Linked DNA regions of Homo sapiens: regions 1, 2, 3, 5 and 6 are each linked to region 4. Evidence: promoter capture Hi-C in 16 types of primary human blood cells and fetal thymus (Javierre and others, 2016). All regions are on one chromosome and are shown on one strand. Each heading gives the region's core, a stretch centred on a gene start or on the middle of the fragment in contact. The rest is flanking DNA. Distances are from core to core; before and after follow the strand shown.

Evidence for each region. Contacts are between HindIII fragments. The CHiCAGO score rates a contact against its expected background, and 5 or more counts as called.
Region 1: a contact is called between a fragment that was not itself captured here and the fragment with the promoter of FAM53B in region 4, in 3 of 17 cell types (total CD4 T cells, naive CD8 T cells and naive B cells). The highest score is 5.4, in total CD4 T cells.
Region 2: a fragment that was not itself captured here is called in contact with the fragment with the promoter of FAM53B in region 4 in 9 of 17 cell types (fetal thymus, activated CD4 T cells, non-activated CD4 T cells and 6 more); the score reaches 12.0 in fetal thymus.
Region 3: a fragment that was not itself captured here is called in contact with the fragment with the promoter of FAM53B in region 4 in 7 of 17 cell types (naive B cells, total B cells, naive CD4 T cells and 4 more); the score reaches 11.4 in naive B cells.
Region 5: a fragment that was not itself captured here is called in contact with the fragment with the promoter of FAM53B in region 4 in 9 of 17 cell types (naive B cells, total B cells, total CD4 T cells and 6 more); the score reaches 10.3 in naive B cells.
Region 6: a contact is called between a fragment that was not itself captured here and the fragment with the promoter of FAM53B in region 4, in 7 of 17 cell types (total B cells, total CD8 T cells, total CD4 T cells and 4 more). The highest score is 8.5, in total B cells.

The regions. Positions count from the first base shown.
Region 1 is chr10:124,381,266-124,385,294 of GRCh38, forward strand. No RefSeq gene overlaps it. Among named protein-coding and RNA genes, the nearest start is that of OAT, 36 kb to the right of the region's middle. The HindIII fragment of the contact is 3,534 bases long and covers 1-3,210 here.
Region 2 is chr10:124,471,168-124,475,437 of GRCh38, forward strand. The region is part of intron 1 of LHPP (phospholysine phosphohistidine inorganic pyrophosphate phosphatase); the gene reads left to right. Among named protein-coding and RNA genes, the nearest start is that of LHPP, 11 kb to the left of the region's middle. RefSeq lists an enhancer at 3,633-4,133. The HindIII fragment of the contact is 458 bases long and covers 1,823-2,280 here.
Region 3 is chr10:124,401,887-124,405,869 of GRCh38, forward strand. OAT (ornithine aminotransferase) reads right to left here. Exons shown (of 10, transcript NM_000274.4): 5 at 3,550-3,677; 6 at 1,912-2,034; 7 at 1,041-1,169. Among named protein-coding and RNA genes, the nearest start is that of OAT, 15 kb to the right of the region's middle. RefSeq lists enhancers at 1,574-2,117, 1,654-1,948 and a silencer at 1,654-1,948. The HindIII fragment of the contact is 9,199 bases long and covers 1-3,983 here.
Region 4 is chr10:124,742,985-124,747,018 of GRCh38, forward strand. It overlaps FAM53B (family with sequence similarity 53 member B), which reads right to left and starts at 1,394. Exons shown (of 5, transcript NM_014661.4): 1 at 1,029-1,394. RefSeq lists silencers at 273-352, 443-652, 973-1,132, 1,183-1,292, 1,313-1,362 and 1 more. The HindIII fragment of the contact is 7,750 bases long and covers 1-4,034 here.
Region 5 is chr10:124,451,217-124,455,006 of GRCh38, forward strand. No RefSeq gene overlaps it. Among named protein-coding and RNA genes, the nearest start is that of NKX1-2, 3.1 kb to the left of the region's middle. RefSeq lists enhancers at 1-243, 244-800. The HindIII fragment of the contact is 3,147 bases long and covers 1-3,120 here.
Region 6 is chr10:124,422,642-124,426,323 of GRCh38, forward strand. No RefSeq gene overlaps it. Among named protein-coding and RNA genes, the nearest start is that of OAT, 5.6 kb to the left of the region's middle. The HindIII fragment of the contact is 323 bases long and covers 1,339-1,661 here.

The sequences.
Region 1 (4,029 bases), core at 194-2,693, 360 kb before region 4:
TGAGGAAAGAAATCAAAGCCCTTCCTGTGGAGGACACTGTTTAATTGATGTCGCATTCAGGGGATTATGGACTATGATCAATGCAAACTGGACTGACCGAGAGAACCCTGAGCACGGAAGGTTAGCTGGGTGTCCCGGGCTCCCAGCCAACCATGTCAGAGCCAGAATGGACACCCAAGGACAGTAAAGACAAGACCCCATCTAGAGTTGGAAGCACCCAGAAGCCTCTGTCATCACCCTGCCCCAGCAATGCCACAGATGGGTGCCCCCTGGCAGAGCCACAGAATGTGTAAAGCTAAAATGAGTGTCCCGGCATCCAGGGTTCTCTCTGTAGTACCCGCCTCAGCATCCCTGGCCTCATACACAGCAGGTACTCAATAAAGGTGGCTGAATTATGGATTCTCAACTCCCAATGCTGGCAGTGGGTCAGCACTGAACACATAATCCCAACTGCATGGTCTGGTGCACTCCAGGAAAACAAACCGGTCAACAATTGTCACTAGAGGAAGTCAAGACTAGCTCAAGGTAGTGGACGGTACATCTCTTCATCGACTTGCTGATCCAATTGAATCTTCTTGCTTTGATCACTGAAACTTTGCTCCAGGGGTTTTCAACCCTGGCTATGCTGCAGAAGCACCTGGAAAGTCTGTTAAAATATGCATGTAGGCCAGGGGAAGTGCTTCACGCCTATAATCTCAACACTTTGGAAGCCCAAGAAGGGGGGATTACTTGAGGCCAGCCTAGGCAACATAGCAAGACCTCATTTCTAAAAAAAAAAAAAAAAAAAAAAATTTTGGCCAGGTGTGGTGGCTCATGCCTATAATCCCAGCACTTTGGGAAGCAGAGGCGGGTAGATCACCTGAGGTCAGGGGGGTTCGAGACCAGCCTGGCCAACATGGTGAAACGCTGTCTCTACTAAAAATACAAAAATTAGTCGAGCATGGTGGTGCATGCCTGTAGTCCCAGCTACTCCAGAGGCTGAGGCGGGAGAATCACTTGAACCAGGGAGGCAGAGGTTGCAGTGAGCCAAGATCATGCCACTGCACTCTAGCCTGGGTGACAGAGCAAGAATCTTTCTCAAAAAAAAAAGAAAAGAAATTTTTTTTTCTTTTTCTTTTTTTTGGAGACGGAGTCTTGCTCTGTCACCCAGGCTGGAGTGCAGTGGCACGATCTCGGCTCACTGCAAGCTCTGCCTCCTGGGTTCACGGCATTCTCCTGCCTCAGCCTCCAGAGTAGCTGGGACTACAAGTGCCCACCACCATGCCTGGCTAAATTTTTTGTATTTTTTAGTAGAGACGGGGTTTCACCATGTTGGCCAGAATGGTCTCGATCTCCTGACCTTGTGATTTGCCCACCTCAGCCTCCCAAAGCTCTGGGATTACAGGCGTGAGCCACCGTGCCCGGCCAGAAATTTTTTTTTAATTAGCCAGGCATGATGACACACACCTGTAGTCCCAGCTACTCGGGAAGCTGAGGCGAGAGAAGTGATTGAGCCCAGAAGTTTGAGGTTACAGTGAACTATGATCACACCACTGCACTGCAGCCTAAGTGACAGAGTGAGTGAGGCCCCGTCTCCAAAAATAATAATTATATATGTATATATACACACGTATGTGTCGGGCCCACCCCAGACAAGGCATACAGATGTTGTAAAAGTGGCCACATGTCCCTGGAGTGCTCCAAAGACTGAAGACCTCTAGCCTCACAGAGGGCCAGAGTGGTGGAACCCTGCCCCAGCTCTGCCGCCGACATCATGTGAAGTTGGTGCTAGGCAGACTCTTAGCTCCCTTGTCTGTAAAACAGACATCATAAAACCCTAAGGGACCAGGCGTGGTGGCTCACGCCTGTAATCCCAACACTTTGGGAGGCTGAGGCGGGCGGATCACCTGAGGCCAGGAGTTTAAGACCAGCCTGGCCAACATGCTGAAACCCCGTCTGTACTACACATACAAAAAAAATTAGCCAGGTGCGTGGCGGATGCCTGTAGTCCCAGTTACTCAGGAGGCTGAGGCAGGAGAATCACTTGAACCCAGGAGGCAGAGGTTGCAGTGAGCCAAGATCACACCACTGCACTCCAGCTTGGGCAACAAGAGCGAAACTCTGTCTCAAAAAAAAAAAAAAAAAAAAAAACTCTAAGCCCCCACTGACCAAATAGGTCCACCCCAAGCACAGGAATCCACTCTACAGACTTACAAAGCAGCTGCCAGTCACAAATATTATTTTTATTTGTGTAAAGAAGCATGAATTTGCTCCACGACACTCAGACTCAATAAATATCTCATTTGAAAGTTTTTCTAAATAAAATTAAATCTAGCTGAACTCCCTGACACACCCCAACCTGGCCACCTTGCCTGACTGAGGGCCCTCTCCCGACTCAAGCACAGTCTATGTACCACTGAGTCAGCTGCATGTGCAGCCCCAGGCAGGCACCTCACCCACACCGCCAGCCCCTCTGGCCAGCATGTGGAATCAACAGCTATCACTCTGAGTCTTTGCGATCCTAAAAATGACAGACATAGTTCAGGGTCTTTATTTTTTTTTTTTTTCGACCCTGGGTGACAGGGTCTCACTCTGTCACCCAGGCTGAAGTGCAGTGGTACAATCGTGGCTCACTGTAGCCCCAATCTCTTGGGCTCAGGTGATCCTCCTACCTCATGAATAACTCAAGATAGTGGAGGGTACATGTCTTCATCTGCTGGCTGATTCAGTAGGCTCATCTACTCAGCCTCCCCAGTAGCTAAGACCACAGGTGCATGCCACCACTCTGGCTAATTTTTTTTTTTTTTTTTTTTAGAGATGGGGTCCCACTATGTTGCCCAGGTTGATCTCAAATTCCTGGGCTCAAGCGATCCTCTTGCCTCAGCCTCCCATAGTGCTGGGATTACAGGTGTAAGCCGCTGTTGGGCTAGCTCTCCGGTGGCTGAGGAACTCACATTTATTTCCAGAATCTCCCTGGCCACTGATCCTTCATTTAAAACCAAAGCAGAGGCAAGGAACCAACAAAGTTGAATTCCTCTGCAATCAGGACACCTGGTGGCCCTTCTGGGCTCCATTCAGCCTCACAGGACCCCAGCCAAGACTTCTCTCACCAGAATGAAAAACCTGCCAAGCCTCGGAGGGCAGGATCCCAAGGGACAGCCTAAGAAACAGCAACCCACTTTTTCAATCCAAACTGTGAATTGCTTTAGGAGCAATCTGCTAGCTAAGCAAAGCTTTTCCATTTTTCACCTGTCTAAGAGCATTCTTCTGAGTCCTTGAGAGGGGACCGATGGGAATCCCAGCTCTCCCTTCATCCTCGTCACAGAATAATTCACACACAGGAATTCACAGGGCCAAGGCCCCAGTGAGAGGTGAGGGGCCTGCAGTAGGGATGTCCCCAAACTCCCCTGCCTGATGCCAGTCGGCAGCATGACAGGGACGGATGTGTTGCCCCGTAGCCAGTGTGCTGCCCCACAGGCAGGACAGAGAACGATGGGGACCAAACAGTGCCCCGGCAGCCTTAGCCTGCCAGCCCCAGGCCTGTGCCCTTGGTTAGCCCAGCACTGCCCAGCACCTCAGTGCTGGAGGGAGTCTCCCAGGACCCCCCTTGCTCAAGACCCCTCTGTCCTACCTGATCCCAGACCCCCTCTCTCTGCCTCTAGCAAGACCACTGAGCCCTGCTCAGCCCCAGGGCTCCCTCCAGCAGCAGTTGATCACCCCTTTGGCCCCCTCTTTTGCGATCCATTTCCCTCACTCCTAACCAGCCCAGAACAAATGCCCACTGGGGGCCAACCTCCATGCCAGGCACAGTGGGCACAAAGTCAAGTGACTTCCCGTGAACCCACCAGATGCCCACCAAGATGCATTCAGACCATTCTTAAGCAAACCAACTGCTGTCATTACAGGGATAGGAACTTCTCCAGAAGGGTCTGGAAATGACTCTCAGCTGCCATCACTGCTACATGGGACAAGAGAGTATCACGTGCATGCCTGGGCATCCTGCAGAGGGGGTCCCTCCCTGGGCCTGTCTTCATGCTATCCATCAGCACT
Region 2 (4,270 bases), core at 802-3,301, 270 kb before region 4:
TTGAGATGCAGCCTTCCCTGACTCTTGTCCAGTTCTGCGGGCACCTGCCCCATCACTCTTGAATGCCACCGCCCCACCATTGCCCAAGGCATGTGTTTGGTTAGTCACAGGTCACTGGAGGCTGGAGACCCCTTGCAGGTCCCCGGGCCAGGAGTTTTGAATTCTTTGTAGCCTCAGAGCACTTATCCAACCAAATGAAATTTTGAGTAGAACTCCAAAATTATATATATATAATATATATATTTATATATTATATATATATTTATATATTATATATATTTATATATTTATATATATTTATATATTATATATATTTATATATTTATATATATTTATATATTATATATATTTATATATTTATATATATTTATATATATTTTATATATATTTATATATATATAAATTTTTTTATATTTATATATTTTTTATATATTTATATATATTACATATATTTTTATATTTTATATATATTTATATATGTATTTATATATATGTATATTTATATATATTTGTATATATATTTATGTATATTTATATATATTTGTATATATATTTATGTATATATATATTTGTATATATATTTGTATATATATATATTTATATATAAATATTTATGAGAACAGTGTTTGAATAGTATATTATTTTTAATAGGGATGGGATCTTAATATATTGCCCAGGCTGGTCTCAAACTCCTGGCCTCAAGGAGTCCTCCTGCCTCAGCCTACCCAGTAGCTGGGATTATAGGTGTGTGCCACCGTGTCTAGCTCAGAATGGAATATGTTTTCTGTGTTCAAATTTATAATGTTTGTTCTGAGGTCAACTGATGAGAATGATGGAAGTGTTTTTATGAATAACAATGTTGGGCTGGGTGCAGTGGCTCACGCCTGTAATCCCTGCACTTTGGGAGGCCAAAGCGGGCAGATCACATAAGGTCAGGAGTTTGAGACCAGCCTGGCCCACATAGTGAAACCCCCGTCTTTACTAAATATACAAAAATCAGCTGGGTGTGGTGTTGTGCGCCTGTAATCCTAGCTACTTGGGAGGCTGAGGCGTGAGAATTGCTTGAACCCGAGAGGCAGAGGCTGGGGTGAGCCAAGATTGTGCTACTGCACCCCAGCCTGGGAGACACAGCAAGACTCTGTCTCAAAAAAAATGTTGAGGTCTGCAGCAGTGAACCACACAACACAGTTTATATGCTTAGAAGTTTATGTGAGTGCTGGAAGCGAGCTTATTAGGAGGGATGAGTGAATGTTTTCTGGTTTATCCAGACTTCAGACTGTTAGACAGCTATGAAAGAATGACTTCGCTCTGTTTGGTGCTGACATTAGTTTATATGATATGAGTGCTGTATATACCAAGTGAAAAAGCTGTAGAATAATGTGTATAAACTTACTTTTTTTTTTTTTTTTGAGACGCAGTCTCGCTCTGTCACCCAGGCTGGAGTGCAGTGGTGCGATCTCAGCTCACTGCAACCTTGGCCTCCCGGGTTCAAGCGATTCTCCTCCTCAGCCTCCTGAGTAGCTGGGACTACAGGCGCCTGCCACCACGTCTGGCTAACTTTTGTATTTTTAGTAGAGACGGAGTTTCACTATGTTGACCAGGCTGGTTTTGAACTCCTGACCTCAGGTGATCCGCCCGCCTCAGCTTCCCAAAGTGCTGGGATTACAGGCGTGAGCCACTGCGCCCAGCCTAAACTTCCATTTTTGTTAAGAGAAAACAAAGGAAACACAACCACCCCCGTATATCTGGGGTAGAGTCATAATAGAATCACAAACTTGAACTGTATGGAAAGAGACTGAGGAAAATCTGATGGCTGCTTGAAAGCTTTCCCGTGGCTCTGCTGGCAGGAGTAAGGTCTGCTTCTCAGTTTCTGATCTCAGCCTTGGTGGGCGGGGGTCACCCTGTGAAAATCAAGGGCAGCCAGGGTGGGTCTGGCACAGGATTATTGGTTTACCCTGCAGGTGCTGCCTCTGGTTGGAAGCCCTTGGCCAATTACAAGGGGAGTGTGGCACAAGTTACAAAGCTCATGAATGGAGTCCTGCCCCTACCCCCAGTGCCCCACAACGTGCAAGAAGCCATATTGGCAAAGCAGTGCCACACCTGCCCACTGTGGTGTGCAGGGTGATTTCCCAGGCCCCCGGCAACAGGCACGTTGCTGTCCAGCTTGTAGAGGAGGAACTTAAGGTTCACAGAAGTGATAGGACTTATTCAGACACCTTTTGAGGGGGACTGAGGGCTGCTGCTTCTGCCAGGGCAGGCACCACCTCTTACCTGTTGCAAAGCTTAATCCTGTCACAGAAAGTGCCAGGTGTCAGCTCTAGTGTGAGAGCGTGGGTTTCCAATCCCAGCTCTGCCCCATAGTTGCCATGTGGCCTCAAGGAAGTCCCTTAGCGTTCCGTCACCCCATTATGGCTGCAGCTCAAGGGCCCCAGTTTCCTATGTGTAATTCCTGTACCCAGGCTGCAAGAATTAAGTGAAATATTTTCTCTTAAACCAATGTTTGGGTGGGGCGAGGCGACTCATGCCTGTAATCCCAGCACTTTGGGAGGCCGAGGCAAGTGGATCACCTGAGGTCAGGAGTTCAAGACCAGCCTGGCCAACATGGTGAAACCCCGTCTCACTAAAAATATAAAAAAATTAGCTGGGTGCAGTGGTTTGCACCTCTAATACCAACTACTCAGGAGACTGAAGAATCACTTGAACCTGGGAGGCGGAGGTTGCAGTGAGCTGAGATTGCACCACTGCACTCCAGCCTGGGCAATACCAGCGAGACTCGGTCTCAAAAAAGCAAAAACAAACAAAAGCCAACGTTTTCCTTTTTTTTTAAGTTTTTGTTTTCTTTTCCTTTTTACCTTAAACTATCAGGAGATAAAAGCCAACGTTTTACTTATTCCATATCTAGGAGCTAAAGGAGCATTTTGTTGTTGAAGGGTCAAATAATTTTGAAGAGTGGGTTGCTTTGCCCTTTTTTTTTTTTTTTTTTTTTTTTTGAGACAGGGTCTCACTTTGTCACCTAGGCTGGAGTGCAGTGGCACAATCTTGGCTCACTGCAGCCTCGACCTCCTGGGCTCAAGCGATCCTTTCACCTCAGCCCCCAAAGTAGCTGAGACTACAAGTGCACACCACTGCACCTGGCCAATTTTTGTATTTTTAGTACAGACAAGGTTTTGCCACGTTGCCCAGGCTGGTCTTGAACTCCAGAGCTCAACGGATCTGCCCACCTCAGTCTCCCAAAGTGTTGGGATTACAAGTATGAACCACCGTGCCCGGCCATATGAAGTCTTGTAGTTGTTGAACTCGGTGTACATGCTAAACCAAAGCACACAGTTCTGCTCAAGGAGCTGTATTTTCCACATCTGTTTGTATTTTCATGAAGCCAACATAAAAGGATTCTCATCCCAGTTCTGTCCCTAGACAAGTCACTGAACCCCTCCAAACCACAGGTCCCATCTCCAAACAGCAGGTCCCATCTCTAAACCACAGGTCCCATCTCCAAACCACAGGTCCCATCTGTAAATGGAAACATGAACCCACCTCTCAGACTGTCAAGAGGATTCGATGTGAACATGCCGTTGGGGCTCGGTGGAGGAGGAGCCAGTCACCGGGCGCTGCTGTAGCCACTGCTGGGGCTCAGTTCACCCTGGGCTCCCTGCTGGTGTAAACTTTCCCCTCTTTCTAAAGGTGCCCCTGGGCGATACACTCTGGGCTCCTCCTGCTGGCCTCCTTCCCAGGGCACCTGGCTTCCTCTCAGAATGTACCTGCCCCAACAGTGGGTTTGTCAGAGACGTGGTTGTCATTGTCACCACCACAGCAATTACTGCCATTTATTTAGTATTTGAAATGTGCCAGGTGCTTCTCATGTCTTTTTTTTTTGAAATGGAGTCTCGCTCTGTCGCCCAGGCTGGAGTGCAGTGGTGCCATCTCAGCGCACTGCAACCTCTGCCACCCAGGTTCTAGTGATTCTCCTGCCTCAGCCTCCTGAATAGCTGGGATTACAGGTGTGCACCACCACACCCAGCTAACTTTTGTATTTTAAATAGAGATGGGGTTTCACTGTGTTGTTCGCCATGTTGGCCAGGCTGGTCTCAAACTCCTGACCTCAAGTGACCCACCCGCCTTGGCCTCCCAAAGTGCTGGGGATTACAGGCATGAGCCGGTGGTCAGGAGTTCGAGACCAGCCTGGCCAACATGGTGAAACCCCATCTCTACTAAAAATACAAAAAATAAGCTGGGCATAGTGGCGGGTGCCTGTAATCCCAGCTACTTGGGA
Region 3 (3,983 bases), core at 1-2,500, 340 kb before region 4:
TACTAAGCATCCTTTTCCCCAGAGTCTCGCTGTCACCCAGGCTTGAGTGCAGTGGCGTGATCTCAGCTCACTGCAATCTCTGCCTCCTGGACTCAAGCAATTCTCCTGCCTCAGCCTCCCAAGTAGCTAGGATTACAGGTGCCCACCACCACACCACACATGTTATTTATTTATTTATTTATTTTGTAGTTTTAGTAGAGATATAGTTTCACCATGTTGGCCAGGCTGGTCTCGAACTCATGACCTCAGGTGATCTGCCTGCCTCGGCCTCCCAAAGTGCTGGGATTGCAGGCATAAGCCACCACACCCGGCCAAGAAACTGATACTTAATGACTTCAACGAAAGAGTTTACATCTGCCAACCTAACTACCAGTAACAACCTAATGACTTAGTCATACCCTAAAACATTACAAATACTTTAGGTACACTTCAATGGCACAAAACAATATAATTTTGCAACTAAAAGAGAAAAGCTATTTCTGCAATGATATAATTTCACAATCACTTCCAACGTCGAGATGAAATGCTTTGTTTAAATGCTTAAAAAACAAAGCTGAGCATTCTTTTTAGCAAAAGTTTTGTCTATTCAGCAAAAACATCTATACTTCAGAGACCTCTGATGTAGTAACAATTACTGGCTCTGAAAGGCAAACCCAAGACATGAACTACAACAAACATTAATTTTTCTCAGTCTCTTTGTTCACCAGTCATGGTTTTAAACAATTAGTAATATGCCATGTTTCTGAACACTGGAAAAAAGGACAGGAGTCTACAGGAGTCCTTTGGGGGTAAACTGTTTCCACCCAAATCCAATGTCATAGCAAATTCCAAGGCACACTCAATTCTTCAGGCAATAAGTAAGTGGGTCACACACTGGTCCCTTAAATGTTTTTATTACAGATATTCCGGGTGGCCTGCAGCACACTTGGTAAAATCAAACAATCTGAAAGCATTGTTGTCACAATCAGTTGATGTATAAATACTTTAGGGGTATATTTTACAAGAGTAGGAAATGGAAAGAGGGGGAACATGAAACTTACAGGGTATAAGCCCCCAGAAAGGGCCTTTCCAAGGAGGACTATATCAGGTCTGACATTTTCATAATCAACAGCCAGCCATCTACCAGTTCTGGCCAATCCTGTCTGTATTTCATCAGCAATAAAGAGAACCTATTGGGGAAAAAAAATACCCCTATTAGTGATCACTTTCGTTTCCACAGGGAAAATAGCCATCCTTATTTCACTGTCCCCCCACCAACAATAAATGTGTAATTCTGATGTGCCCTCAAATTTGTAAAAATGTTTTAACTGCACACAATTTCAAGAGTATCCTATAAGAATCTTGTAGACTCACCAACTATTTCCTTTGTCAGGCCACTATCTCCCTAGAGGCCCATTCTGCCCTGCTCTACATAGTGAAAAGGTGCTGATGCAAAGGTGAGGGTTTTGTATGGCTTTTCTGGACCTAACTACCCTCTGGGAACAAATTAATTCATTTGTTTATTCCACAAGCATTTAATATGTGACAGAAACTCTCAAATGGTAAACAAAATATACTACTATTAGCCCTGGGGGAAAGGAGGAGAGAATACAACAAAGGGCTTGCGGGGGCTCAGAGTGAAAGGCTCTTAGAGCAGCGAGGAAGGAAACGCTGTTAAGACCAGGTCTGCAGTTCTGCACAGGGCCCAGGACAAGGCCAGAGACAGGAAAAAGTCTGCTTCTGTGCAGGTTTCTAAGCACTAGGAAGTACTTAAGCTCTTAGAATGCCATCGCCCTCTAGTGGAAAGTAATTTAATCTTTGCATTTATCCAATCAGCAGAATTCAGAGAGGAGTTGGGGAGGAGCCCATTCAGCCTCATCACAAACAGCTAACTCGACATTCAGCCTTATCACAAACAGCTAACGTGACAACCTGGTGCCTGGTGCAGAGCTCTCGCACTCCCATTAGGTAACCTGGATCCGGAACAACAACGCCTGCTTCACCCTGAATTGGTTCTACCATGAACGCAGCCACATTTGGATCCTGAAGAGCACGCTACAGAAGAAACAGGAATAAGTTTTAATAACTTCCTTTCTACCACACTTGGAAATCTGAAAGCATATACCACACATATTTTACATTAAGTATGCAAATCAAGTTTTCGCACTAACGTAAATTCTGACTTCAAATTCACTGCCATTCAATTATCAGAAGCTCCAAATACCTCACCTTTAAGTTACACTAGCCTACATTTCCTTTTTTGCCTCATTCTGTTGCCCAGGCTGGAGTATAGCAGCACAAACATGGCCCACTAAAGTCTCGAACTCCTGGGCTCAAGGTGATCCTCCTGCCTCAGCCTGCCAAGTAGCTGCGCACCATGCCCAGCTAATTTTTTATTTATTTTCATTTTTTTTTTTTTGGAGATGGAGTCTCACTCTGTCACCCAGGCTGGAGTGCAGTGGCACGATCTTGGCTTACTGCAGCCTCTGCCTCCTGGGTTCCAGCAATTCTCCTGCCTCAGCCTCCCAAGTAGCTGGGATTACAGGCGCACAGCACCACGCCCAGCTAATTTTTTTTTGTATTTTTAGTAGAGACAGGGTTTCACCACTGTCTCTGGTTTCACTGTTGGCCAGGCTGGTCTCGACTCCTGACCTCAAGCAATCTGCCTGCCTCGGCCTCCCAAAGTGCTGCGATTACAGGCGTGAGTCACCGCGCCTGACCTTGATTTTTAAATTTTTTTGTAGAGACAGGCTCTCCCTATGCTGCCCAGGCTGGTCTTGAACTCCTGAACACAAAGTGCTCCTCCAGCCCTGGCCTCCCAAAGCACTGGGATTACAGGCATGTACCACCATGCCCAGCCTGTTTTCTAATACACAAATGTACCTAAATTAAATCTGGCTGGGCACAGTGGCTCATGCCTGTCACCCCAGCACCTTGGGAGGCCAAGGTGGGCAGATCACTTGAGGTCAAGTGTTCGAGACCAGCCTGGCCAACGTGGCGAAACCATGTCTCTAAAGAAAATAGAAAAGTTAGTTGGGTGTGGTGGTGTGTGCCTGTGGTTCCAGCTACTTGGGAGGCTGAGGCAGGAGGATCACTTGAACCCAGGAAGCGGAGTTTGCAGTGAGACGAGATTGTGCCACTGCGCTCCAGCCTAGGTGACAGAGTGAGACTCTGTCTCAAAAAAAGAAATTAATTACTTAAATTAAATCTAAAGTAAATAGCCTTTTAAAGCCAACTTAAGGCTTTCTTAAAAAGTCTTCCACTTCATAATTTTAAAAAGCTAGCTAAAAACAGAAATTTTACCTAGTAAGTAAGCAGGTATACCGAAGTTAACTGTTATGAAGGACACACATCTAAAGTAGTTGGCTGGCTGTACAGAGTAGATCACAGAACTCAGCTTTCTCTGTGTTGGAAACTAATTGATCGCTACTGAGAACAAGTCTGAAATCGTGGCTTAACTTAAGTGAGATAAATTTGCATTACTGTCATATAATGTACTTTTAATTCATATATTCAACAGCTTTAATTTCTATTCCCAATGAGCTGAGCACTATGATGCTAGTGAAATACCTCCAGTGCGGGCAGATCATTATAGGGAATGATGTCGAATCCCGGCATAAATGGTCCAAAACCATCGTAACTGGTTGGGTCTGTGGAACTGGAGATAGCAGACAACGTCCTACCCCAGAAGTTCCCAGCTACAAAGGGGAAACAAACAGTGATTATTTCAAAGAAACCCAAAATTCAATAAGCACTATCCCCGCAAAACACCACAAGAAGTTTGACTCAAAAAATAAATCAAGGGCTTGCTTTAGTGCACCTTCGGTGGGCTTTCAATTGTTAAAACAAAGTCTGATATTAAACACCATGGCTCCTATGACACAAGGCCACTAAGTCTGGCCTTGTAATTCCTATTTTAGGCATTTCTCTCTACTGAGCCTCTTGACTGGAATATATAGCCCCTGAAGATAGATAACTTACTTTTCTTTCAATAATCCCCAACC
Region 4 (4,034 bases), core at 144-2,643:
GGGCGGTCAGATGGAAGGAGCTCGGCTTCAGGGGGCGTCCGAACGCGAGGGACCCGGGCAAACCTGTCCGCGCGGTTCGTCGCTGCTGCGGCGCCCCGGCCCGTACTACAAGCATTGTTCCCCAAGTCCGAAAATGGGGGTGGAGAGCTGGGGGCTGGGGGACAAGGTGGGGGGGCGGGGGGAGCGAGAACACACTTGGGACAACACAAACCGCAAACCCTCCCCGGATTCTGGGTGTCCTCGTTTCTTTCGTCTCTGCCCCAAGAGAAACCCTGAGCGGGGAACCTGACTCCCACGGGCTTGCAAAATCCAAGACTAGCAAAAATGTGACTCGACCAGTGTGCCTGTGCCGGACGGCCCTTCTCGCCATGTGCAAAAGCCACGCCGGCGCGGACGCCCCCACTCCGCAAGCCCCAGCGGTGGCCTCCCCGCGGGCTTCCCCCGCCCGGGACAGAATGCCCCCTCACCCCCATCCTGACCGCCCCGGACAGTCCAGCAGCAGCGGAGCCCGCCGCCTCGCTCCCGCACCCCGGGGGTGGCGGGTGCAAACTTCCGCGAACAAAAGAGTTGTCTGCAAACGATGCGGGAACTTCGGGGCGAATGGGGCCGCCCGGCTCCCGAGACTCCGCGCCTCCTCCGCAGCGGCTAGTCAGGGCTCAAGTTGAGACGCGGAGAGGACACCCCCGGGCGCAGCAGTCCCCGCGCCCGCCCGCCCTGGCCTGGGGAGCGCAGACTTTTCCGCCGCAGCCAGGCTTGTTCTTCCCCATGCCTGTGCTCTGACAAGTCTCACGCCTGCATCAGGGGCGAGACCGAGCGCCCGGAGAAACCGCCCGACCCAACCCAAAGGCGAAACAAGGCAGAAAAAAAGGAAACCAGCAACATTAGGAAAAAAGAAAAAAAAAAGGCAAGCCCATTGCGCACGCGAGCCGGGCTCCCTCCAGCCAGCGGCCGGGACGCACACGGCCCGGACCTCGCTCGGGGCCAGCCCCCCGGCCACCGCCGCCGCCGCCCGGCCCCGGGTCGCTTACTGTGCGCGGCGGGGCGCTCCGGGCGCGGACCCCGCGCCGTCACCGCCAGCGCTCGCCAAGTCGTCCGGGGTGCCCGCCGCGCGTCCGCCGCGCGCACGCTCGCCTGCCGGCGCCGAGCGCTTTGTACGAGCGACTCCCGGGGAGGAGGAAATCGACTTGTCACTTCCTGAAGTGTTTGCAACTCGTCCCTTTAACCGGCACCGGCCAGGCCGCCCGCACCCGCCGCCGCCGCGGAGCCGCCAGACCGCGGCTGCGTGAACTCGGCCCGGCGCTTAGCGGGCGGTGTCGCGGGCCCGGGCGCTAGGCGCGGCGGCGGCGTGCAGGAGGCAGGCGGCGTGCGGCGGCGGCGGCAGGCGAGTGTGCAGTGCGCGCAGCCGCCGATGGGCGGGGAGTGAGGGACTCGCGGCGCGCCGCCGGCGGGGCTAGAGGGCGTCCTGCGGGCTCAGCCGCGCGCCGCTCGCCGCGCTCGCGCCTGCGAGGCCCCGGGACGCGGGAAGTGGCCCCGGGCCTGGGCCGCGCCACCGCGGCTGCCCGGGCCCCGCGCCAGAGGCCCTACGGGCTTCTCTCCCCGCCCCCAGCACGAGCCGGGATGAAAACGCTGGGCCGCATAGGCTTCAGGCGTCCAGCTTCCGGGTTGTTAGATGCCGAGGTTCAAAAGAAACGATCACTTCAGTGGCGTGCAGGACAGCGGGCGGGTGGGGTCGGGGAGGGGGGACCTTAAAGTGTTGTCACACTTTGGGAAAATAAAGCGCAAATTTCCTAACTCGGGGCGCTGTGACTGTGTACTTCAGAAGCCACATCCAAAATACATGCAACTGGCGAAGGAAGGATTTGTGGTTGCTAAGCAGAGGCAGAGCATGTTTAGTTCTGTAACTTAGGATGTTGACTTAAGTTCAGGAATGTAACCCTGATAGAATAAGCAGAGTATTTTCATTGTGCTGCTCACCTGGGGGAGGGGGATTGTTTTCCTTGTGAAGCCCTAGATTTCCCATTACTCCTTCCTACTGGTGTATGTTATTTTATTGACCTTGTATCCAAAAAGCGATTTTTAAAGAGAAGTTTTTTTAAAACTCCCTATGCCTGTTTTGTGTTCTCCTTTGCCAAAAAAACAAAACACCTCATTACTTTACATGGATTGTGTCTGCGCCATTTGAATGGTTCTATTCATAAATAAGGAAACTTTTTCTGTTGCTTCTAGGAACATTTAATTGGTTTTAATCCAATGTTTCAATCCCAGTATCAAACATAAATGAACAATTAACTTCTTGAGCTTTGTGTGCTTGGGAAACTATTATATTTCATGGCTATTGCTGAAATATTTCAGAATATCATCACACCGGACCCATTCTTTTCAGAAAAGCATGAACTGACATCTCCTTTCACACTACAGCTCGCTCCACTGAGTTCTGCTGCATGATTAGAATGGACAGCAATCAGTGGAAAGGATATGAGTCTATTCATTTCAAGTTACATGATGTGGGATAGAGTCAGTTCATCCTAGAAAGCCAAAATGAGCTAACATACAGAATACAGCATACTAAGATATTGATATCCTTACCCATATACGTTGCTTTTTAAAAATGCATTAAGGACCAATCTTGAAAGGAACAAGATCCAAGAACCGATGGTGAACAAAAGAAGGCCCAAGGAATAATCTAAGAATGCTGCTATGCTTAACGAAAAGAGTCAGTGTTTCCCTAAAGCCATCTGATATCACACAATCACCTCAGCCTTTCAGAGCTTTAAGGACAGAGTTTAATTTACTAACGTTTTATTAGGAAGCCTAGAGTGACTCCTGCTGGCAAACATTCAGTTTATTCCTACAATTACTAGTTCATCAGGTCAACTTAAAAAACAAGATGCAGGGTCCCAGGCCTGGAAACAATTATTACAACCATTATTCTTGTTGCTTTCAGGATGATTTGCGTTTCACATTCCAAGGATGGTGGTCATGGCCAGTTCCTCTGCTGTAACACCTCCTTTCCAACCTAAAGCAGCCTGTTTTTCTGGTTCTGAGGCTTTCTTGAGGCTGTCTAGAATATACTTGCTTAAGAAGTTATGCTATTAACCAATAAATAGTTACTTCTCATTTTCTAGATTTGTATCTCCAAAGGCTAAAAAGATATGCATACATTAAGACCTGTGTCACACTTAACCTTCCATACTATAGGTTCTTCCCACATGATATAATAATCCTACAGCTATATTATAAAACATCCTCACTTCTTAGTGCTCAGCTCCATAGTTCTTTACTAAGAAAAAATTCTACCCAAAAGGTTGTTGTTATATTAGAGTTCTGCTCAATTCAGAAGAGTAGCTAAAAATGTAGAACTCTAGATTTAAAGCTATGTAAAAGCTGCAATGGGGTGGGGACATGGAGCTAAACTGTCTATCTTTGTTCAATCCAAAATGGTCAAAACCAGATTTTGCACACAACCAGACACCTAAATGCAAATTCATAGGCCAATTTAGGAATAAATCCATAAATAATCTAAAAACTATTACTTGTAACTTTTCCATTATCACCAACCAACGCTAACCTGATTAAGCCGGAGAACACCCTGGGAAATATAAAATGCAGGGATTACTTGCAGTCTTTTACATCAAGACCAATATATGACGGCCCGGCACAGTGGCTCACGCCTGTAATCCCAGCACTTTAGGAGGTCAAGGCGGGCGGATCACTTGAGGTCAGGAGTTTGAGACTAGCCTGGCCAACATGGTGAAACCTCATCTCTATTAAAAATACAAAAATTAGCCAGGCATGGTGGCAGACACCTGTAATCCCAGCTACTCAGGAGTATGAGGCAGGAGAATCGCTTGAACCTGAGAGGCAGAGGTTGCAGTGAGCCAAGATCGCACCACTGCACTCCAGCCTGGGTGACAGAAAAAGACTCCATCTCAAAAAACAAACAAACAAACAAACAAAAAATATATGAAAGCCAGGGATAAAACACAGCAATCCTAGTTCTCCCAAAGGAGGACTACCAAATAGAGGCACACTTG
Region 5 (3,790 bases), core at 297-2,796, 290 kb before region 4:
ATTTCTTCTTTTGTCTCTTGGAAAGCACACAGCAGTCTGTGAGCACTAAGCATTTGTTTCAGGCAAATTCTGAGGCTTCTCCTAGTGTTTGGCCCAGAACCACCTCTGACTCTGCCGTTCCTTTCTTCTCCGCCCCATAGGGTTTCCAAACAATGACTTGGCAATTAATATTGTCTGAGCAGGTAAGGAGTAGGAAGAGGAGGAGAAACCTTCTCATTAAAGTGCTGGGGGCTGCTAATCCCATCTGTTATTGAAGAGGCATCCTTAGAAGCCAGCTCCTTGTAGCTTTTCTCATTCAAACCTTGCTGCCCCTCCCAGAGGTGGTCACTGTATTCCCTGCGGACTTTAAAGCCTGCGGAAATCAAGCCAGCTCCAGTCCTAAAGTGAAGACGGATTGTGCTTTTAAAGCTCAGGAAAGGAAGTGCCCTTCCCAAGTCCACTGGACCACCTCCCATCGAAGGGAATGTGAAAATCCCAAAGAAAAGATGGCCCTGAAACTAAAAAGTGGCGCCCGACAACCTGGACTGCAAATCACAGAGCCTTCCTGAAATACAGATGGGGTACTTTGTTTTCTGTTTTGATAATGCTTTCTCACCCAGTTCTCGATTTTTTTTTCTAATCTTCCTTTTTGTTTCTCCCCCTTCACCCTTTTGATCCTAGCCGCCCCTTCTACATTTTCCCACCATGTTTACTTTTTTTTTTTTTGAGACAGAGTCTCTCTGTCACCCAGGCTGGAGTGCAGTGGCGCGATCTTGGCTCACTGTGCAACCTCTGCCTCCTGGGTTCAAGCAATTCTCCTGCCTCAGCCTCCCAAGTAGCTGGGATTATAGGTGCGCGCCACTGTGCCCGGCTAATTTTTGTATTATTAGTAGATACAGGTTTTCACCATGTTGGCCAGGCTGGTCTCAAACTCATGATCTCAAGTGATCCGCCCACCTTGGGTTCTCAAAGTGCTGAGATTACAGGCATGAGCCATCGTGCCTGGCCCATGTTTATATTTTTAAATGCTGAGGTTCTCAGGATAGCTAGGAATAGGTTTCCTTAAGTTAGCCCCAGATGGAAGTATGTGGCCTCCCACTGTCCCTCTTATTCATTCTCCTATGAGAAACCTTGAGACTCTTTATTTTCACAGGATGGTGGGCATTCCAGGGGCCACCCTATACCCCAAACCAGAGGGACAAGGGAGGCCCAGACAGCCAAGAGTAACCCAATCCCGGATCATTTCCACTGTACTCCATAGATTACCTCAAAAAATTTTGTTTAAATGATATGAATCATCTTTCCCTTGAGGTTCACAGATGTTAAATATAGGGAAGGAGCCGAAAAAGGAAGAAGCAACAAATTGGAGAGAAAGCCAAGAATGGCAGAGGCCACATTCCTTAAACCTGTGAATCCTTACAAACTCCTTCTCTTAGTGGTTTTCTGTTTTGCTTGCCCCTTATTTTTCAGATTTTTTTTTTTTTTTGAGATAGGGTCTCGCTCTGTTGTCCAGGATGGAGTGCAGTGGCGCGATCTCAGCTCACTGCAGCCTTCAACTCCCAGATTTAAGCAATTCTCATGCCTCAGCCTCCTGAGTAGCTGGCGAGTAGCTGGGATTACAGGCACGTGCCACCATGCCATGCTAATGTTTTCTTTTGTTTTGTTTTGTTTCAGACAGAGTCCTGCTCTGTCTCTCAGGTTGGAGTACAATGGCATGATCTCGGCTCACTGCAACCTCCGCCTTCTGGGGTTAAGCGATTCTCCTGCCTCAGCCTCCCCAGTAGCTGAGATTACAGGTACGCACAACCACACCTGGCTAATTTTTGTATTTTTAGTAGAGACAGAGTTTCACCATGTTGGCCAGGCTGGTCTTGAACTCCTGACCTCATGTGATCCACCAGCCTTGGCCTCCCAAAGTGCTGGGATTACAGGTGTGAGCCACCACGCACGGCTTAAATTTTTTTTTTTTTTTTTTTGATACAGAGTGTCACTCTGTCACCCAGGCTGGAGTGCAGTGGTGTGATCTCAGCTCACTGCAACCTCTGCCTCCTGGGTTCAAGCGATTCTCCTGCCTCAGCCTCCCGAGTAGTTGAGACTACAGGCATACACTCCTGCGCCCAGCTAATTTTTATATTTTTAGTAGAGACAGGGTTTCACCATGTTAGCCAGGCTGGTCTCGAACTACTGACCTTGTGATCCACTTGCCTCGGCCTCCCAAAGTGCTGGGATTACAGGCGTGAGCTACCGTGCCTGGCCTAATTTTTTGTGTTTTTAACAGAGACAGGATTTCACCATGTTGACCAAGCTAGTGTCGAACTCCTAGCCTCAAGTGATCTGCCCGCCTTGGCCTCCCAAAGTGCTGGGATTACAGGCATGAGCCATTGTGCCCGGCCAGATATTTCTGGTCTGTGTGTTCATTGTAGCACAAGGTAATGTGAATGCTCATGCTTAGTACTTGGCTGCAGGCAATAGATGGCACACAAGAAACTTCGCTGGGTCTCCCATCAACACTGAAGGGATAGAAATGCCCTCTCTTACTCATCCAACTTAAAGAGAAACCTGCTAACCAAAGAACAGGATACTTTCTTCAACGTGGGGGATAGTGGAGGAGGAGGTCCTAGGTAATTTTTTTTTCTGGCCACCTGTTTTGTAAAAGACCAGGAGGCAGTGAGCATCCTTTTCAGTACAACTTGGCCATGTGTTTGGCTCACTAACATCCTCACATGTGTATTTATACCCACGCTATTCCTATATAACATATCCAGATCCAGCAAGCCACCTTCCCTCTGTGCATAGAGTTGATTTTTTTTTTTTCAGCCTGGGCATTAAAATTCCGCCTGAGTGCTATCTTTAAATTGCTTTGATGCTAGGTGGGTTCCAACCCTGACCTGTCCTGATAGCAAGTGATGCCTGTAACAAGCTCGGGATCAATATTCATAGCGGGTGTCCTGGGCTGATAACACTATCCAAGACAATGTTCACTATCCGTGCAGACAGCTGAGATATTGCACCATTAGGGATGTTGTGTTAAATAACCTGATCCATTTCTGGGGCTATTTAATGAATTTCACAGTTTAGATAGTATCTTTAAGGAGAAGGCAAAGGCTATTCCGGAGGCACTGATGCAAATCAATGGTGCCAAGCTTCCTAAGGTATTCCACAAACAAAGGTGCCTATAATTCCAGCACAGCCTTGAAGAGCCGCTGAGTGCCATGAATAGTGTTAACAATGGAAAGAATTTGCAGTTTATGCAGAGGGAGTGGGGGGGAGGGGGCAATATTATGAGCCGTGTTAAAGCATTTTAGATAAAATCTTATGTTCCTAAAGTAAAATGCAACTGAAATTCTCCAGGTAAAACCCTGCGTTTTGAGCCAGCCCCCAGGGTAGGATATATGTGCCAAAGAGACAGCTTCATAAGACACAGCTTGATGACAAAGAGGGACACCTCAACTGCCAGACAGCCTGTGGGTAACCCCTTTTCCCAGTACCTCAGCCACCTTCCCCAAGATGTGCTTCTTCTACTCAAATTGGTCTGTAATATGGGAGAGGGTAAGCACTAGGTTTTAGAAGGAAGCCACAGATAGCAGAATCCATTGTTTGTTTACTGGACTCTATCTCCCTTGGTGCTGGAGAGGTCATTTACAATTAAAGGCTAGCATTTACCATTTCCCACCAGAGCTTTGAACTCTGGCTGCCAAGCACAGCAAGTATTCCCCCCGGCAAAAAAAAAAAAAAAAAAAAAACACCTCATAGACTAACTTGTGAAAGCTGAGTTGAAAATATAGCCTTCCCACCTGACCCCAAACCAAAG
Region 6 (3,682 bases), core at 250-2,749, 320 kb before region 4:
ATTTTTCTCTCCCGGAGCCAAGCTCCACCTACGAACTCAGGCTGCAACCCCTTCCCGTCCCCCAGGTGAGACCCTCCCTGACGACTGAGACTGAAGGGGCCTCGTCCTCTTCCTGAGCACTTCCTGTCCACGTCAGGCTGGCCTGCAGTCTTTTTTCTTTTTTTAATTTAAAAATACACATAGAGACAGGGTCTCGACATCTCGCTCAGGCTGGTCTCAAACTCCTGGGCTCAAGCAATCCTCCGGCCTCGGCCCCCCAAAGTGCTAGAATTACAGGTGTGAGCCACCATGCCTGGCCTGCGGTCGTTTTTTAACCTACAATATCTCTCTGGCTCTCTAGCTCTATCAATTTGAGAAAAGAAAACTCACTCATCTGGGCGCAGTGGCTCACACCTATAATCCCAATACTTTGGGAGGCCGAGGTGGGAGGATTACCTGAGGTCGGGAGTTTGAGACCAGACTGACCAACATGGGGAAACCCCGTTTCTACTAAAAATACAAAATTAGCCAGGCATGGTGGCGCATGCCTGTAGTCCCAGCTACTCGAGAGGCTGAGGCAGGAGAATCGCTTGAACCCGGGAGGCAGAGGTTGCAGTGAGCCAAGATCACGCCATTGCATTCCAGCCTTGGCAACAGGAGTGAAACTCTGTCTCAAAAAAAAAAAAAATGAAATGAAAACTCACTCGTAGCAGGTATTCAAGGTTTGCAAAATCAGGCCAGAGAAACACCAACACCAGACATCAGTTACAACCCCCAAAACTCATGCCCGGGGGTAGATGTTTAAAGGCATTTTTGTTCCTGACTACCTAACACACTCATCTCATGTTCCTGGAATTTAAGTTACAAAAAACAATGTATAGACAATCAGTAGCTTATTTTAATGTAAATTCTTGGTAAACAATTTAGGAATTGCCTTTTCTTTTTTCCTTAAAAACCCACTTGGGGCTGGGCACGGTGGCTCGCGCCTGTAATCTCAGCACTTTGGGAGGCCAAGGCGGCCGATCACTTGAGGTCATGTGTTCGAGACCAGCCTGGCCAACATGGTGAAATCCCGTCTCTACTGAAAATACAAAAATTAGCCAGGAGTGGTGGCATGCACCTGTAATCCCAGCTACACTGGAGGCTAAGGCAGGAGAATCTCTTGAACTCAGGAGGTGGAGGTTGCAGTGAGTAGAGATCACGCTGCTGCACTCCAGCCTGGGCAACAGAGCAAGATTCTGTCTCAAAAAACAAAAACAAAAACAAAAACAAAACAAAAAAAACCCACTTGTAACTGACGTCAATCAGAGTGTATGATAAGGGCAACTTGAATGGATTGTTCCCAGGTGGCCATCCTCAAGCTTTGGGCTTGAATAAACTCTATACTTCACTGTATTTTCTGAGTCTCATTATTTGAGGTTGGCAGTGTCTTATCTTCCCAACCACATTTAAGTTCTTAAAGGCAGAGCTTGTCTTGCAGGATTTTCACAGCCTCCCAGCGCCCATCTCTACATGGCTCTAGTAGAAATTACTATTCTACACTCGTTCGTCACTATTCATCTTTATTCCTCTGGACAGGAATCAGAGGCAGAGCAGGTAATCATTTTGGGAGTGGTTCTGAGATTCCAAGAGCCTCTCCTCAACCCTAGAATAGCGACAGCTATTCAAATTAAAGCCCTAGAAGCTTGAGTTGAAGGCAGGAGGATACTTCAAAGCATTATTGCCCATTTACATTTGGCTAACTGTCCCGCTGAAGGAATGTCACCTGGGCCTGGCACATTTACAGTTGTCTGGAGAGGAGATTGACAATTCTCTGGATGTGGCATGAGATCTGGAGGGGAGCCTCTGCGAGGATCTTGAGAGCTGGGGGGCTGAGGCCAGAGGACACTGGGTGCCTGAAAAACTGGGTACAGGGGAGTGGGGGGAACAGAAAATACCAGAAGAGGGATGGAGGAGGACCAGGCCCATTCAGCTTACCAAGCCAGGGGGTCAGGACTATTCAAATTAGCCCAGAAGCAAAGACGTAAAAAGCCATTAGGCTCACGGAGCTGTGAAAGTCAGCTAAGGCTCAATATTGAAAAATAATATGTTGGCTGGGCGCAGCGGCCCACGCCTGTAATCCCAGCACTTTGGGAGGCTGAGGCGGGCAGATCCCCTGAGGTCAGGAGTTCGAGACCAGCCTGGTCAACATGATGAAACCCCATCTCTACTAAAAACACAAAAATTAGCTGGGCATGGTGGCAGGCACCTGTAACCCCAGCTACTTGGGGGGCTGAGGCAGGAGAATCGCTTGAACCTGAGAGGCGGAGGTTGCAGTGAGCCGAGATCGTGCCATTGCACTCCAGTCTGGGGGACAAAAGCAAGACTTCATTTCAAAAAAAAAAAAAAAAAGAAAAATAATATGTTTTCTTTCTTATGAACATAGGCATTAGAGATGCAAATACAGAATAGATTTTAGAGATAAAGAGACACTTTAAAACCTAATCTAGGCCAGGCTCGGTGGCTAATGCCTGTAATCCCAGCACTTTGGGAGGCCAAGGCAGGCGAATCACCTGAGGTCAGGAGTTCAAGACCAGCCTGGCCAACATGGTGAAACCCCATCTCTAAAAAAATGTAGCTGGGCATGATGGCAAATGCCTGTAATCCCAGCTATTTGGGAGGCTGAGGCAGGAGAATCGCTTGAATCCAGGAGGCAGAGATTGCCAAGAGCCAAGATCGCACCATTGCACTTCAACCTGGGTGACAGAGTGAGACTCTGTAAAAAAAAAAAAAAAAAAAAAAACTAATCTAACTCTTTTAAAGGCAGAGAAATCCAATCCAAGATTCCAAGGTAAAGGGCCCCCACCTGTCTTACGAAATGGGTCACAGGGACAGCCAAGAAACTGTGTGTTCTACCAATCATGTTCCACATTTGAGACATTTAATCAGAAGTAAGAATTTTGACTAAGAACAAAAAAGGCTGAAATAAAAGTTTTTAATAAAAATTTAAGGAATGAGCAGCAGTATTTATTTAAAGAATATTACATTGCTCGTTAATTTTAAAAAATAAGATAAACCTCAATTACTAGTTAAACATTTACTTTATATCCTTATCTATTTAGGTACTAAGAAGATCAGTGTGTTTTGCAATGATTTTTTTTATTGATTCCATGATGGCAAACTTAGATAACTTTGATTACTTTTCTTTTGAGGACTTTAATTCTGACTCTTTGAAGTTGGACTATAATAAAAACAAACCAGAAAAGAAGAAATTTCCACAGTTTATTCCTGAAATTGTTGACCTAAGTAAATGTATGGAATAAATATATGAAATGCTATGAAATAAATATATTAATACAATGGGTATTGTAAATCATTTCATCTTTGCTGAAAACATTTAATATTTTTTGCACAGAACTTTGCAGAGAGTTTCACCGTTTGGGACAATCGAGTTCACCAAAAGCAATGCCAGTCCTGGTATTTGGGTCATCAATACGCTCTGTCTTTGTGGCTGTCACATCCTTAATCGTGGTATAGGAAGCTGGGCACAGTGGCTTACATCTGTAATCCCAGCACTTTGGGAGGCCAAGGTGGGTGGATAATTTGAAGTCGGGAGTTCAAGACCAGCCTTGCCAACATGGTGAAACCCCGTCTCTACTAAAAATACAAAATTAGCTGGGTGGTAGTGGTGTGCGCCTGTAATCCCAGGAGGCTGAGGCAGGAG